Linked DNA regions of Homo sapiens: region 2 is linked to region 1. Evidence: promoter capture Hi-C in 16 types of primary human blood cells and fetal thymus (Javierre and others, 2016). All regions are on one chromosome and are shown on one strand. Each heading gives the region's core, a stretch centred on a gene start or on the middle of the fragment in contact. The rest is flanking DNA. Distances are from core to core; before and after follow the strand shown. Region 1 holds the start of DSCC1 (DNA replication and sister chromatid cohesion 1). Region 2 has its middle 11 kb from the start of COL14A1.

The links. Contacts are between HindIII fragments. The CHiCAGO score rates a contact against its expected background, and 5 or more counts as called.
Region 2: a fragment that was not itself captured here is called in contact with the fragment with the promoter of DSCC1 in region 1 in 1 of 17 cell types (monocytes); the score reaches 5.0 in monocytes.

Annotation. Positions count from the first base shown.
Region 1 is chr8:119,854,084-119,857,170 of GRCh38, forward strand. It overlaps DSCC1 (DNA replication and sister chromatid cohesion 1), which reads right to left and starts at 1,811. Exons shown (of 9, transcript NM_024094.3): 1 at 1,531-1,811. The coding sequence starts at 1,712. LOC105375728 (a long non-coding RNA gene) reads left to right here. Exons shown (of 4, transcript XR_928590.3): 2 at 592-719; 3 at 1,323-1,796. RefSeq lists an enhancer at 1,483-1,792 and a silencer at 1,903-1,962. The HindIII fragment of the contact is 2,867 bases long and covers 1-2,320 here.
Region 2 is chr8:120,112,276-120,115,096 of GRCh38, forward strand. No RefSeq gene overlaps it. Among named protein-coding and RNA genes, the nearest start is that of COL14A1, 11 kb to the right of the region's middle. The HindIII fragment of the contact is 605 bases long and covers 1,257-1,861 here.

The DNA.
Region 1 (3,087 bases), core at 561-3,060:
CACACCTTAAGTCTCAGCTACTCAGGAGGCTGGTGGGAGGATCGCCTGACCCCAAGTAGTCATGGCACCATCATGCAGAGAGCCGTGATTGTGCCACTGCACTCCAGCCTGGCTGACAGAGTGAGACCCTGTTCCCACCACTCTCTCCCCAAAAAAAAGATAAAGAAAAAAGAAGGAAGAGGAAAGGATGAAGGTGAAGCGGAGGAAAAGGAAGGATTAAAGACAAAGATGATGGCAATGACAGGGGAGTTGGTTCTAGCAGTTTTCCTTGTCTGTAAAGCATTTAATTCTCCTGTGCACAACTCGTTTCTTTTGAATAAATAATAAGAAACCTGAAATAGCAGACTGTGTATTTATTTTTGACTAAGTCTTCATTTAAGTAAAAAGAATAAAAGGTTTTTTAGATTCCTAATGCTAATAATGCTTAATAGGCCCAAGTACCTAGTCTTTAACATTTATTTCTCTAACTGCACTACCCCCACTTTGAAATATTTTGTTTATACCATCACTCCCTACACCCCAAAATTAAAAACACACGTTTCCAGGGCCTGTTTTTATTTTTTTGTTTTTGTTTTGTTTTGTTTTTGCCAGCTAGATTAACTAGAACTGGACCGAGAGAAAGTCCTCACACCTGAGTTCCTTTCTCAACTCTCCACCAACTGAACCGGGATGGAAACAGACTAGTGAAGTTCTTTCAGTTCCCTTAAAGGTACTTTGAGGTATATAGCAGGTATCTGAAGAATGGCCAGTTTACTCTAACACTCTTTGGTGGGCAAAGTACGAAAACTGAAAGACAGCCTAAAGGATTCCATTAAGAAAAAAGAGAAAAAATAGCCTAATAAAATATAGGTGTCGGAGGACCAATTGTGCAAAAGAGAATCAAGCTGGAGCTCCCTATTTTGCAGGAGCTGGGGCTGCACAGGGTGGAGGGATATAACGATTCTCTAGACTTCTCAAGACTGCCTTTAAAAAACTACCTCAACTTCGACTTCTAATCAATGATCTTGCAGCAAGTTTGTATCTGACCTGGAATTAGAAACAGCTTCAGATCCCTACTAAGCAAGTTTGCTTCGGGGTGGGTAGGGGTCTCACCCAATTACCAAGTCTGTAAGCTGATTCCCAGCACTTCCTATCTATCATCTGAGTAAAATAAATATAAGTGGAAGGCAAGAGTTCTATAAACATTGGGTATCACCACTGTATTTTAAGGTAGAGTGACAGGTGTCCTGTAGAGTCCCTGTAATCACCGGTAACTCTTCAAAAACTTCACGGAGGTTGTATTAGTATTTCCTGACTTGCTCCCGCTGACACATGCCTCCAAGGTCAGCTGGACCAGTGCTACTCATCACCGCAGTGCAGCTAACTGGACGGCCCACCGGAGGCGTGGACTCCTCGGGAACAGGCAGCTTGCTATGAGCCCCCGGCCAGGTCAGTGCATCTCTCTGGCCCTGTTTTCTTATCCCGACTTTCCCCGCTGAGAAAATAACGTGGCCGGCCAGAGGCTGGGGGCGCCGCGTGACCAGGGCTCACCTGTGTCCATCCTCCAGCTGCTGGCACAGCGTGGGCTCCAGCTCCAGCAGGCAGAAGTCGCCGGCTGCAGCGCCGCTGGCCCCAGGGCCGAAGCCCAGGCAGTGCACCGCCGGCAGCAGCTCGGCCGCATTCAGCTTGGCGATCTGCAGCGTCGCATCCACCTCGTCGCGGGTCCTCTTCATCGCAGCGCCGGGTCTAGGAGTCCCGCCGCGCCCGGGTGGCTGCGGGCTTGGCGGGCAAGAAAGAAGTTCCCAAGCAGCCGGAAGGTAGGAAACCTGAGCGTTTGAAAGCGCGCCAAGGCGGCCATGGGCGTGTTTCCGGGGCGGAGCGCGCTGCGGGCCCGCCCGCGGGAAGGCCTGCCGGCTTCTGGGAGCGCGAGCCCCTCCGTGCCCCACGCCGGACCGCGACTGCAGGAAGGAAACGCGGCTTCCCGGGGGGCGGTCTCGGCGGAAGCTCGCAGGGGCAGAGCTGCGACTCGGCGGGTTGGGACACGGATCCCTCGCCCACCCTTTCCGCTGTCCCCTTGCCCGCCCCCCATCCCCGATCTCCGTCCCTGGTTTCCAGCCGATGCTCCCATTTCCTCGCCGTCCACATTGTCTCACCTTCCGCCAGTGGCGGGCCCTGTGATAACCACTTGGCATGTATAATTCCATGAGCCCGTTGCCACAACCCTGTAAGGTGGTGCCTTGGTCATTCCCTTTTGCCAATGAGGAAGCAGGCTCCTTGCTCGTGATGGCAGAGTCAGGAGGTAACAGAGTCTGACTCCAGCCTAGCCGACTGTGGCTCTAAAAGCTTCCTGCGGGGTTTTGTGCAAATAACCCATGCTCGGGAGCGAGGCCCTGGGAAGGAGTATCTCGCTTCTTTGGGTCAGGGCACCATCATATCTGGAGACAACGGCGGGACTAGTCTATTCGTTGAATACCTAGTGTTAACCGAAAAGTGACTGATGCAGGTCTCGTTCAATAGAGGTTTATTTAAGCAAGGTTGAGGACGCACCCGAAGGGAAAAACAAGTCACAGGAGCATCTGTGACTTGTACATTTTCCAAAGGTTTGGGGAACTTCAGTATTAAGAGTTTTAAGAGAAAAGGTTTTCACTATGCACACATACATGAATTGCTTGTAACAGCGTAATGTGTAAACTTTCCCAGAGATGCTTAGGGAATCGTTGAGGGCCCTGGCTGTCCCTGAGAGCTAAAATAGTCTGGGAGGAATCACTTAAGAGATGGTGACCTCCTACTAGTTAGTGCAAATCAGACCTTGCTTGAAGTGAAAGAAAGTGGTGGGTAAGGTGTTGAATTCAAAGGATCTGAGCAGACATTTTTTTCAATTCTTGGGTAAAATGATACGAAAATACCAGAGTAGGGCATCCCAGGAGTCTGGGCAGTGCTTTCGTTGGTGGTGGAAAGATTGGTTCATGTGACCTACTTCTTCACTAGCCTCTTTTACATTTGAATGCATAGGAATTCGGTGGAATGAAATCCTGAATGTGACAGTGGTTGCCTGATAAGAAGTTATTATTGAAGGGAATCAACCATTGTAGTTGCTCTATTAAATGG
Region 2 (2,821 bases), core at 309-2,808, 260 kb after region 1:
TTTTTTCCAAAATACACAATAATGACTATAAGGGATCAAGGGAGCCAAAGATAAGTTCTCCCTGGGATAGTATTGAGCAGGAACTTGAAGGAGGGGTGGGTTCTGTTTAGGTAGATGGGAATAGAAAAGTGTTCATATGGTTTAACATCAGAAAAAGGGCAGAATTAGGAAAATTCTATTTGGGTGTCAGGGAATAATACAAGAGCAAACTTTTAGGAAGTGCTTACTAAGTAATAGGTGAAGAGCCTTCCAGATATTATAAAATTAAATCTCCTAAACACGATAAGAGGTAACTATAACTACCATGCTACAATGTGGATAAAGTAACATGTCTGGCTCTGACTTCAGAACTCACATCCTTAATCTACATTATAAAGTTTGTCCAGGAGGTTGAGTGGACATAAGATAGGAAAGTTAGGCTAAGGCAGACACGGAGGAACTTGATTACTAAGCTAATATATTTACACCTTATTCTGTTTAAAGGAGCCACCACTGGGAGGATCAGAGCAGGTGAAGGATGTAAGTAAAGTGGGTTTGCTCCTGCAGGAATATACAGACTGTTGATCTCAACCTTGGCTGTGTGCTAGAATCACTGAGAAGATTCTGATAAAATACCCATGTCTGCCCCTGCTCCTGGTCAGCTAAATAAGACACTCTGGGTTGCTCATTTCCCTCATTTACTTAAAACTTTCCATTGCCAAGATATAGTCAAAATACTTACCTTGGCATACAAGGTTGTCCAAGGTCTGATCCTTGTTCACCTCTTGTGTCTCACATCACCCATCTTTATTTATTTATTTATTTATTTATTTATTTATTTATTTAGAGACAGGGTCTTGCTCTGTCACCCAGGCTGGACTGTGGTGGCGTGATCTGGGCTCACTGCAACCTGTGCCTCCCAGGCTCAAGCGATCCTCCCATCTCAGCCTCCAGAGTACCTAGGACTATAGGCACGTGTCATCATGCCTGGCTAATTTTTAATTATTATTATTATTATTATTATTATTATTATTTTGTAGAGATAAGGTCTTATTCCCAGGCTGGTTCCCAACTCCTGGGCTCAAGTGATCCTCCCAAAGTCTTGGGATTACAAAGGCTCTGAGCCACTCCACCTGGTCTTAAGTCTCTCCTCTGATTTCACCAAACTCTGCTCATTCAAAATAATTTGGGCCTATGCAAGCTCTCTCTTGCCCGATGACTTTGTTTTCTTGTTCTTTTTTTCAATTGTTTGGTTGAAAACCCAAGGACTTAATAAAAGCTTTTCTTTCTTTTCAGAATGCTTTTGTTTCATATCTTCTCAAGGCTGGCTGTCTCTCTTTTTGTCAGCCTAAAGGTCACCTCCTCACCTATGTACTTCTTGATCATTCTACCTGAATAAGTTGCATAATACCTGCACTCTTGCCCCTCAGCCCGCTACCATCAGAGCACTTCATGTTTTGTCAGTGTGTGTTTGTGTAGCTGGACTCTAGACTCCACAAGGCCAACGGACTTGTTTTGCTCACCCCATGCATACTCAGAGCCCAGCAGTAATATCTGTGGCATAAGTTAATGAGAAGGCATATCTTGAATAACTTAGTTAATGTCACCCAACTCATGAGGGCAAAGCCTGGAGACGAACACAAGCTCGAAACCATCATGGTGCTCTGCTGGAATATGGTGGTTTGCTCATTCATTCTTGCTTTTGTTCATTCATTCAGAGAACATGTTTTGGATTGATAATATATGCTAAGCCAGGTGCTAGGGACACAGATAAAATGGTCATTGATCCTGAGAACATAATCTGGACAACTTTAAGTGAATACAGTCACAGAGGGAGCAGGGCACTGCCAACTGATTTCAGTGCTCAGCTTGGTTTCCTCTAAGCTTCTGTACTGAGGCTATTACAGGGTAGAGAAATTCTCAGTCTAGTGGCCCATGGTGAATTTTCAGACAAATCTGAAGGTTTTGGATTGAAATAGTAAAAAGTTTGAGAACAAAAGTTTCATCAATTAATTAACACGTCAAAGGGCACAGATCAGAAGAGATACTAACTTGAACCACAACTTACATGAATAACAGCTGAAAACAAAACAAATAACAAATTTCGCAGAACACTTCACCACAGCATAATGAACAGAATTTTCCAAAACCTAGACCCATATGAGATTTTCTATCTCATGCGTTCTCTGTCTCTCTGCTCTCTCAATTCTCTAAAAGAAGAGATCTCTGTGGTTTTCTCTTTATTTCTAGCTCTGTGTGCTTCTCATTTCTCTGGAAAATCTAAAATGTCCTCAGAGAGGACTTTCTGGCCCTCTTCAATCTTCCCAAGGCTGATTCTTGAAATGCTGCCTTAGGATGTCTTTCCTTTGGTTTAAAGTTTTGCTCCTATTAATATTTTAAATTTCTTTGTAGTCTCAGTGGATATATCTTGGTGGTTATATGTTATCCAAAATTTTTTTCTGGGGTGTAGGTTCTTGGAGGAAGTCTCACCAGAGGCCTGAGGCTAGCCTTGGTGAATCTATGGACTATGCTGTATATGGAAGCAACAGCCTGAATAGCAGGAAATAATCTGAGACGTAGCTTTAGGCTCGATGTACAATGCAATCACCACTTCTTTCTTTTCCTTTAGCAACATATTGGCTTGACCAATAGGCAACAGGTAACAGGTAACAATGCTTCATCCTTGTCATCAGTTTTTACTGTTTTTTGGGGGTGTGTGTTATTATTGTGGCTTCTTCAGAATAGTCAAGTAATTTTCCTTAAAAGAGAAAAAATAGGCAACATGAAATTAAGTTGATTAAAAGAATGTGAATGGGAAAATAGATCAGCATAGTGTTAAGGA